3 separate regions of the Homo sapiens genome follow, and regions 1 and 2 are each linked to region 3. The links are contacts of gene promoters, found by promoter capture Hi-C in blood cells and fetal thymus (Javierre and others, 2016). All regions are on one chromosome and are shown on one strand. The core of a region is centred on a gene start or on the middle of the fragment in contact, and the rest is flanking DNA. Distances in the headings are between cores, read along the strand shown.

Region 1 (3,597 bases), core at 873-3,372, 480 kb before region 3:
GAAGGGGATCATGAGCTAAGAAACATGGGTGGCCTTTGTTTTAAAATGTGGATCTTATTATTATTCAGATACAGTGAGGCCGACAGACCAGGCGTTTATTTCCATTGAAAAAATACTTTGTTATACTCGCAGATCCCAAGAGTAGGGACATGCCAAATTATGGGGGCTACATGAGGAAGCACTGGGCTTGGTGTTTTAGTTCGTCCTCACACTGCTATAAAGAAATACCTCAGGGGCTGGGCGTGGTGGCTCACGCCCTGTAATCCCAGCACTTTGGGAGGCTGAGGCAGTTGGATCACAAGGTCAGGAGTTCAAGATGAGCCTGGCCAACATGGTGAAACCCCGTCTCTACTAAAAATACAAAAATTAGCCAGGTGGTAGTGGCGTGGACCTGTAATCCCAGCTACTCGGGAGGCTGAGGCTGGAGAATCGCTTGAAACCAGAAGATGGAGGTTGCAATCAGCCGAGATCATGCCACTGCACTCCAGCCTGGGTGAAAGAGCAAAACTCCATCTCAAAAAAAAAAAAAAGAAAAAAGAAGAAGAAGAAAAAAAGAAATACCTCAGGCCGGGTAATTTGTAAAGAAAAGAGGTTTAATTAGTTCATGGTTTTGCAGGCTGTTATAGGAAGCATGATGCTGTATCTGCTGAGCTTCTGGGGAGGCCTCAGGAAACTTACAATCATGATGGAAAGGGGGAGCAGGCATGTCACATGGCCAGAGCAGGAGCAAGAGAGTGAGGGAGGAGGTGCTACACACTTTTAAACACCCACACCTAACAAGAACTCACTATCATGAGGACAATACCAAGGGGGATGGTGCCAAGCCATTAATGAGAAAACTGCCCCCATGATCCAATCACCTCCCACCAGGCCCCAACTCCAACACTGAGTATTACATTTCAATATGAGACTTGGGCAGGGACACACATCCAAACTATTATCAGTTGGTCAGGAGGCAGAGAGTGCAAGGTGAAAATGTGGGCAAGAGCCTTTATTGTGGTTTCCATTGGAAGAAATGGGTGAGGCAGGGTAAGCAGGTTTAGATCAGCTAGTTTGAATAATTTCAGTGGACTCTGAGGTGTAAGGGCTGTCTCTAGTGTCTGGCACCTAGCCTGGGTGATTAAGGCAGGGTAGTGGTGGCCCAGGGTGTCAGAGCTCAATAGAGGAGGCAGTTGTGGGTGTGGGCTTTGGATTAGTTGGTTTGCATTAGAAAGGCACACTTGCAGTCAAATCCTCTACTATCTCTAGGGATTAGCTAGCCCTTGGAAGAGCTCCAGGGTCACCAAGCCCCCAAGATGTCAAAGCATTAAAAATAGAGAAAATAAAAATACGCTATATATATACCTCTAGATGTTGGAAATGGCAAGGAAAGGGCTTCTTCCCTAGAGCTTCAGAAAGGAATGCAGCCCTGCTAACATGGTGGCGTTAGCCTTGGGAGACTTGCATTGGACTTCTAACCTACAGAATTGTGAGATAATAAATCTGCATTGTTTTAGCCACAAAATTTGTGGTAAGTTGTCACAGCAGTAGTAGGAAACTAATACAATATACTCCTCAAGCTTCCACCCACTAATTTTAGTATCCATTGATGATTCTTGCCTAAATCGATTTTTATTATGACCGTAATTTTTCTTATCCCATTGTTCCTTCTATTTAATAGGTGGTTTTCTACTACAAGGACAATGTTTTTTCCCCTTGCCTCCCCACCATTTATTTATATAAATATGGACACACAGATCCTTCTTTCATTTAATGGGCTATACTCCTTTATTGTCATTCATTCTGATGCTCAAATTTTTCCTAATTTCATCAGTAGGAACACCCTTAAGCTGGCTTCTGCGTCTTTTTGACTTGTCAGCTGGAAAATTTGCATGCGAAGGCCATGTAATGGGATTATTATTAATCTTCTTAAATATGACAACGGTATTAAGGTTATATAGGAGAATGTCCCCTTTCCTTGGGAGATATATTTACGGGTGAAGAGTGATGGTATTATTTGCAACTTACTTTCAAATGGGTCAGCACCTCCAAAAAGGCGATGCTTTTATAGGCTTTGTGCATCTATGTCTCTCTCTGTGTGTGTGTGTGTGTGTGTGTGTGTGTGTGTGTGTGTGTGTGCAGAGAGAGAGAATTAGCAAATTTGGCAAAATGTCAAAATGATCAAATCTAGGTGGAGGATAACCAAGTGTTTATTGTGTTATTCTTTCAATTTTTCTGCATGCTTAAAATTTTTTACAATAGAATTTAGGGGAAAATGCAAACAAAGAAAAATAGCCTTAAAAAACAGCTGATTCATTGTTCTCAGGACATAGTTGTGCATATAGCACATACTTCATGATCTTTCCCTTGGGTCCAGGGTACAAAAAGGATAATTTTTTTAATGAACATTTTAAAGTGTCAGCTTAAATCTGGCCTCTGTGATTTAATTAAATGGAAAGTTTGCCCATAAAGTGCCTGAAAGCAATGACCTCATTAAAGTATGTAAACACTGTTCCTCAGATCTCATTTACACTTTTTTATTTGTGCTTATGGACAAAGTTATTTTATAATCCAATCCCTGTCTAAATCACCATAAGTTTTAGATTAGCAATGACCCATAAAGGGAGTTTTAATATGTAGTTTATAGAAATCCACATTCCAATGAAAATCCAACCAAAGGGGAATGAAAATGCAATGCAAAGCTTATTAAACTATTTGAAGTTTCTTCTACCTAATTTTTCAGAGCTTTTTATACATGACTAGACTCATACATTTATAATCATTGAAGTTTGGCAGGTACAGAGAGCTGATATGAAGTGTTGCAAGAAAACTGATGAAGGAGCCACCCAGACAGCTGCCCTGTGGTAGCTTTAAAATAGGTCAACACATTTGAAACTTTTCCCTTTCAAGGGTGGAGACTCATTCTCTTCCACTTGAGCATGGGCTAGACTTAGTGACTCACTTCTAACTAATAGAATATGGCAGCAGTGGTGGTGTGTGGCTTCTGAGACTAGATGGTGTCAGCATGGCAACTTCCTCTTTGCTGTCTCTCTTATATCATAGCTGCCATGCCATGAAGACACTCAAGCAGCCCTATGAAAAGGTCCACTTGGGGAGGAACTGAGACCTCTTGCCAACAACCATGTGAGTAACCCGTCTTGGAAGACGATCCACCAACCCCAGTCAAGGCTTCAGATGACTGTCACTCCAGCCAACATCTTGACTACGACCTCATGAGAGACTCTGTGCCAGAACCACCCAGCTAAGCTGCTCCTGAATTCCTGACCCCCAGAAACTGAGATAATAAATGTTTATTATTTTGAGCCACAATATTTTTGGGTAATTTGTTGGAAGGCAATAGATAACTAATACAGGCTCTCATAATGTCATTTATTTGGGTCCAGTCAGCATGCTTTAGGATCTGGGAGTTTTTTTCCTTCATCCATAATCTAACAGCAATATAAGGAATACAAGAAAAAGAAACTAAAGAGACTTCCCTGGATTCTCCTGGTATTGGTGGATGTAACATTTGACTCTTTACTTCTTCCCTGCTGAGTCTGAAGGGCTTTTGCTTGAAGTAATTTGCCATTTTGGAAGAGAAGCACTATTTGGCTAGTG
Region 2 (3,466 bases), core at 878-3,377, 400 kb before region 3:
GAGGGTTCCCTTGACTTCTGGAAGGGAATGTGAAACCACATGTGTTACAATCTGCCTACAGACACAGCTTTTCCACCAGGACCCAGAAAACCACCTGCTCACTAACATCATTGTGGGAGCCAAAAATCTACCTGGATGCTTGTGGTTGCTCCAAGGGGTAGGACATCATAGGACACTTCATTTTCTCTGGCCGTCTTCTCTGCACATCCACCTTAGTTACTCCTGTGATGCACAGTGCCACTGGAGTTCCCTGGTTACGTGCCAATCCATCAGCACTCACAGGGTACTTACCTCATACGTTCTCTCCAAGACAGAAAACAATAGGATTACATGGCAAGGAGAACGAGGAGCCACTACCCTTTCTTACCGGAATACCCATAAACGCATCACATGGTAAACTGTTCAGGGAAAGGAACCTCACTGACCTACAAACGTGAAGATCAGGTTGTCCGTGGTAAGTTTATGGTGCACACAATCACTTACCCAGATAGCAGACACGTCCCCTGCTCATGACCCCCGTTCTTCAGGATTTTCTCCCGGGAACCTGGAAAACATATACTGAGATATATGCCTCAGAAACACACAAGGTGTTCTACCAGGACACCTGCAAATCACGATGCTCACATCCATCACTGAAGGACTCTTACCTGAATGCTAGTGGGGGCCCCCAAGCTCAGGGCGGTGGTCCCAGAAGACAGCATTTCTCTCTACAGGACACCTGCAAAATGTCCATGGTCACTGCTGTGGGAAGGAACACCGGATAATTACCAAGTATTCAAAGTTCCACTGTGAACACGGGGTTAGGCATTGTCTCTGAAATATGCAGAGGGAAAACTCACGGTTTCGAATATGTCAGGGACACCTGAAGCGAAATCGGGAACAACAGGGAGGCCTACACCATCATCACCATCATCACTTACCAAGACAAGACTCAATCATTTCTCACCTGAATAAGTATGAAGGAAATAATGGTGGTAAGGCCTGTAGGGACACATCATCACTCAACTGTGTCTCTGTGACAGTCCCACGGTGCAGGCTGTGGTTTAGGCCCACATCAGCACTTACCTCAGCCAGACTCTGTTTCAAAAAGAAAGAAAACAATAGATAACATGAAAGTCTTACATCCAAGGAATAAATAAAGCTACAGCTTTAAGCTGGATACTTATAAAACACCTAGGTTACAATGGTGGCAATTGGTTGCAATTTGTGTCACGTCATCTCTCATGTGGATGCCTACAGAAGCCCGTGAGATCTACCAGATTTAGAGAAGCCTACCATACATGAAGACCTACAAATTACCCAGATTAAATGCCATTGCTAGGGACACATCATTTCTTTCCAGGGTAACTGTAAAATCCCTTGGTACTACCATTACTAGTAACACATTATTCCTTGATTGGATATCCTCAAAATTCCATGGTCACCATATTTTTAGAGATACCATCATCTCTTACCTGGTTACTTGCAAAATCCCCTGCTCCTTACTGTGGTTATTATCAGCATCATCTCTTAATTACTGACCTACAAATTTCGTCATAACCTTCACAGTTAAGGGCACCATCATGTCTTTACTAGACCCCTGACAATCTCATGGTCATTTTGTGGTTAGGTTCGCCATCATGTCTGGAATAGCACAAAATGCCATGTTCACTAACATGGTAAGAAACATCTTCAGCTCCTATGTGCTTACCTGAGGAAATCCAATTTTGGTACTCGAGTTAGGGCCATCATCCTCTCTTATCTGGATATCTAGAAAACACCATGCTCACCCCCACTGTTAGGTTTATCATCATTTCCTACCTTTATAACTTCAGTATCCCATGTTCAATTCCTAAGTAGAAACACTCATTTCTTACCTGGATATTCACAAATTCCCGTAGACATTACCCTGGATATGGCCACTGTCATCTTTTCACTCTATAGCTACAAAATCCCATGGGCACTATCATGGTTACGGACATGTCTATCATCTGTTTTTTGGATTCCTGCAAAATACTGTGGTCACTACAATGATGAGGGCCATGATCATCCCATACCTGAATCACTACCAAATCCTATGGTCCCTGAATCTCCTGGAGAGACCTCAAGGCTCCTCCCACTCTGACTTCTGCCTGGCTCACCAGCCTCAGTGCTTGCTGTTTCCCTATCCCCCTTTATTATATCAACATTCTAAGCAGTTTAAGTTCCGTAACATTCCTTTTTCTCCTGGTTAGCTGTAACACAGTGTTCACACCTGTCCTTACCATCTAATGAGAACTGATTATTGTCATTTCCTTGTAACTTAGTGTTCCTTGTCCTTAAAATTGGCCATGGTGGGAGTACCAACTAGGATTTTTATTCTAGGAGAGCGAGTTATTAAGCTCTCCTGGATGTGCTGATGAATAAAGTAATAAATAAAAAGAAGTACTACTGAATAGTAACACCTCAATCTTCTCTTTTTTCATTAACTTGATCTGACTTTTGTGGATGAATGTGTCAGTTCACTCCATACCTGGCTTAAAATCTATCGTCTTTCCAAATATTTATACTTAATGAATAAAATGGGTATACACTTTTATTACAAATTAGATAATATTATATTAATGCTGTCCAAGGACTTACATAATCTCAATATGTCCAAAGTTCATAAACTTGCTGAAAAAGAAAAACAATAATTAAGTAATTATTTTTATACAACTGCTGGAAAAAAACTCGTTATTTTAAAAATTAGATGTATTACTAGACCTAGCAAATGAAAATCATTGAGATATACATACTCACTGATATATGTATGTGACGTGTACATATATACACCACACACACACACACACACACACACACATCCTTACCTCACCCATTTGCCAGAGCAAATCTTTTCTTTTTTTTTGCCATGTAAATTTCTTCCTGCACTCTTTGTGGAAACCTAAATTTCCATCAGTGACCGCATTTAGATTCCATGAGATTCTTAGTCACGAATTCCTTTGAAAACCAAGTAAAATGTCAAGAGAGAGAAGCAGCACCCTATAGCCCCTCTTTTTAGTTCCACAGTGTGGGAGCCAATTTTCTTGTAATTCTGGAGAGGAAAAAAATCACCATGTGGCTATAATTCTGAAGACTGTTTTTTTAGATTGCCCAGAGACTAGCAGATGCAGAATGAAATAAATAAAGGCTATTTTTCTCATGTTTGAGGTGGTTTCCAATTAATACTTCTTTATTTCTCTTTGCCACTCCACTTTTCCCCAATCTTTCCTGATAATAGAGTACAAATAACCTAAATGTTCTATGGTGATTGTAGATACAAAACTGATATATCATTAGGCAATTTTTCCTTTTTAAAGAAAATGTTCTATTTTTTCATGATTATTCTTAGCTACTACCTACTTCTACTCACCAAAGTCAACCATCAGCCATGAGAAAGAATATTGAGGCCATAATTAAAACAATGGCAGGGGCATGAACAACACCTGAGAATGCTGCTCTGTCTCCT
Region 3 (3,544 bases), core at 146-2,645:
AGCTTACAAATATCAAGTAGGAATTGGATAATTTCAACTGCAATCCCATATGTGTCATTGGCCCAGTTGACCGAATTCCATATGGGCCACCTACAGTCATTTTGTAAAGCATTGTAAAATTTTAGTGCAGAATTAATTTACCTTCAAGATCCATAATGAACATTAGGTGGGTATAAAAATTAACTTCAGGCCGGGCGCGGTGGCTCATGCCTGTAATCCCAGCACTTTGGGAGGCTGAGACAGGCGGATCACCTGAGGTCAGGAGTTCGAGACCAGCCTGGCCAACATGGAGAAACCCCGTCTCTACTAAAAATACAAAAATTAGCCAGGCGTGGTGGCACACACCTGTAGTCCCAGCTACTTGGGAGGTTGAGGCAGGAGAATCGCTTGAACCCGGGAGGCGGAGGTTGCAGTGAGCTGAGATCACGCCACTGCACTCCAACCTGGGTGGCAGACCCATTAACTTCAAAAGACTTAAGTGTACTTTAAATTGTTGTCAAAATTAACTCCAAGGACTTTGGGGAAAAATATATAGTACATTTTGGATGAGACTCTCTTGAAATCAGACTTTTCAATTGCTCTTAAACCTCATTGAATTTTCTAGAAAATGTATCATTTAAAAAGAAGTGTAAAGTTCATTTTTAGTCTGACAGTTCTTGACAATAACAAAAACGGACCACCTGCTATGTCTTGACAGTGTAAAATAATAATTACAGAAATTGTAGCATGTTATTAGGTTGGTGGAAAAGTAATCACAGTTTTTTGTACCAACCTAATTATTTAAAACTCTGACCAAGAAAAGTAGCAATTAATGTCGAACTTTAAGCCTCCAACAGTAGGTTAAGCTCAGGCTTCACTAGGATCTAGCAATTGACCTATGTATGTGAAGGAAGAGAGTTTGTCCTTTTCTACAGAAATAGCAAAGGAAGAATATTTCCCTCACCTTCTCTTCCAACCCTGTTGTTCTGGAAGAGGATATTGTCTCTGGTAGGGCCAGTAAGTAATATTTCCAGTTCAATTTCTAACTTGAAATTTTCTTATTTTCCTGTCCAAATTAGTAAGATCATCACTGCATTTGATTTTCAAAATTTACTCTCTAATTCCTTTATACTAACGTGTGCACAAATTAAAGATCATAGCAAGCCGCTTTACCTGCATTTACAGTTGTTTCGATCTTTAATTTTTATCCTTATTTGCCCATTTATTACTTTCTAGGCTCACACCATTTGCCACCAACCCAGATTTCTGGGTCAGAAACCCCATATTCTGTTGGAAAGCTTTGCTAAAGAAATAGAAGTGGCTTACCATGTTTCTGTTGTTCTAATTTTTCATTCCGTAACTTGCAGCAGCGCAGAATGGTACCCTCTATGCAGGAGGTGGCCGAGAAGAGAAACTGGCTAACTTCCTGAAATGGCTCTATTTACCATCAGCAGAACGTAGCGTGTGTTTTACAGAAGTTTACATGAAAAGAAGGGAACTTGTGATTTCTTAGCTGTTGCCAAATCATTAATTGACTGTGCTTTAAAACTTTGAAACTGAAGTTATGGGAAAAAGTCATTTATGAAATGATTTAAATACAACCCAAATCAGACACACACGACGTATTTTTGTTAGTTTTTGTGTATTTGTGTGTACAGGGGAGAAAAAGGGAACATTATTCCATTCACTAAGAAAACTTCAGTGTATTCTTTTTTAAAAAAGTTACCATAAATTTGTACTGAACTTCGGATTTCTCAAACTCGTCTTCCTTGTGTAATTCACAGATGTAGGCGAATAACATGAACATTGCTTCATCTTTGTTCCACAAGTTTCTGAGACAGCACCGGTAGGTATGGGTCTCCCTCCCACTGGGCTGTGGCCGCAAAGCGAGCATCTTTCTCCTGGGCGCCCCATGCCTCCTCCAGCACCTGGCATGTAGTATAAGCTCAATGAGTGTTCATTGTATGAACGAGTGAGTCAATGGCTGAGCATTCGTGAGGCTGGAAAATTTAATCTTCCCGATTTAGTCTGATAAATGGATTCCATTTTATGCTCGGAGAGCAAGGGCCTCAAAAGGTGTAACCAAGAGCAGAGGTCAGCAAACTGCAGCCTTTGAACGAAATCCGGCCCAGAAGTGAAAACATTTTTAGATGAACATTGGCAATGGATTTGCTGATACAGAACACTAACTTTAAATTCCAACCAAGCAGAATGTTAGCACCTCCAAAAATGATTCCATTCTTCTCATTATTAAACCTATACTACAAAAAAACTGCCTTCGATTATTATTATTACATTTTGAGTTTCATCAATTACATAATTGTGGAAATTTTTATTTTACTATATAAGTAGCTACATAATATGCCAAATTTGCTTCTTGGCCTGTAAAACCTAAGATATTTGCCATCTGGCCCTTTACAGAAAAAGTTTGCTGACCCCTGGCCACAAGAATAAAGTTTAGAACGGGATGTGATATGTTTCATCTTGCCTTACACCCCAGGAGTGGGAGAAAACCAAATTGGCAGCAGGGTGGGCAGAGATGACATCCATATATAAATGGACTGTGGAACACCTTGTTATGAAGGAAGGCCTGTCAGCAGTCAAAGAATGGCTTGGGTGGGTATACCTAGATGGACCTCTAAAGATCACACCCTAAGGGAATTCAAGACCTGGTGCATGGTTTGAGAGGTGATTCCTGTGACATCAGAGAGTGCAGCCTGGGCCTTCATGGGCAAACCAAAAACATTTGTGATTGTAAACCCAAAGGCCTCGGCTGGCCGCATCCAAGTCTCTTGGTTTCCCTCCAAACATTTGCTTGGAAATAAAGTAAAGAAAGTAAGTAAGAATGGATCGAGTGCAGTGGCTCACACCTGTAATTCCAGCACTTTGTAGAGGCCGAGGCAGGAGGATCACTTGTGCTCAGGGGTTTGAGACCAACCCGGGCAACATGGCAAAACCTTGTCTCTAAAAAAATACAAAAATTAGCCAGGCATGGTGGTGTGCACCTGTAGTCCCAGTTACTCGGGTGGCTGAGGTGGGAGGATCGCTTGAGCCCAGGAGGTGGAGATTGCAGTGAGCCATGATAGTGCCACTGCACTCTAGCCTGGGTGACAGAATGAGACTTTGTCTAAAAAAACAAACAAACAAACAAACAAAAAACAGCGAAGTAAAAATGACTTCCAGCCGTTGACTGAGCAAGGATCCTTGGAACTGGAGAGTTTGTCAGCTTTCTAGAAAAGCGAGACTCACATACCCTGGCTTCTAGGCCACCAAGTGTCAGCCAATTGTAGACCAGTCAATTGGCCTTGTAAAGCATGCTTGTATACGTATATATATATATGTGTGTGTGTGTGTGTGTGTGTGTGTGTGTGTATCATCATGTATATATGATATATATATATTTTTTATGTACATATGCATGTTTATATGTATATATACACACATACAGTCTAGTATCTATGTCAAGCAAACTCATAAAAATGAGTTACTTACTTATACCAAATGAGCCTTCAGTTTTCTCCACACAACCAGTACCATAAAAGATGAAAATGAAAATGGAATTGAC

The links. Contacts are between HindIII fragments. The CHiCAGO score rates a contact against its expected background, and 5 or more counts as called.
Region 1: a fragment that was not itself captured here is called in contact with the fragment with the promoter of TLR8 in region 3 in 1 of 17 cell types (non-activated CD4 T cells); the score reaches 6.2 in non-activated CD4 T cells.
Region 2: the fragment with the promoter of GS1-600G8.3 here is called in contact with the fragment with the promoter of TLR8 in region 3 in 7 of 17 cell types (total CD4 T cells, non-activated CD4 T cells, naive CD8 T cells and 4 more); the score reaches 8.2 in total CD4 T cells.

Annotation. Positions count from the first base shown.
Region 1 is chrX:13,387,263-13,390,859 of GRCh38, reverse strand. LOC124905248 (a long non-coding RNA gene) reads left to right here. Exons shown (of 2, transcript XR_007068395.1): 2 at 3,043-3,309. Among named protein-coding and RNA genes, the nearest start is that of LINC01203, 54 kb to the right of the region's middle. RefSeq lists a silencer at 2,824-2,923. The HindIII fragment of the contact is 1,122 bases long and covers 1,562-2,683 here.
Region 2 is chrX:13,309,313-13,312,778 of GRCh38, reverse strand. It overlaps GS1-600G8.3 (unknown transcript), which reads right to left and starts at 2,127. Exons shown (of 17, transcript NR_046087.1): 1 at 2,037-2,127; 2 at 1,857-1,923; 3 at 1,691-1,749; 4 at 1,066-1,077; 5 at 921-946; 6 at 648-718; 7 at 132-544; 8 at 1-17. The HindIII fragment of the contact is 25,262 bases long and covers 1-3,466 here.
Region 3 is chrX:12,904,471-12,908,014 of GRCh38, reverse strand. It overlaps TLR8 (toll like receptor 8), which reads right to left and starts at 1,395. Exons shown (of 2, transcript NM_138636.5): 1 at 1,306-1,395. The coding sequence starts at 1,308. It overlaps TLR8-AS1 (TLR8 antisense RNA 1), which reads left to right. Exons shown (of 5, transcript NR_030727.1): 4 at 1,764-1,825. The HindIII fragment of the contact is 3,594 bases long and covers 1,280-3,544 here.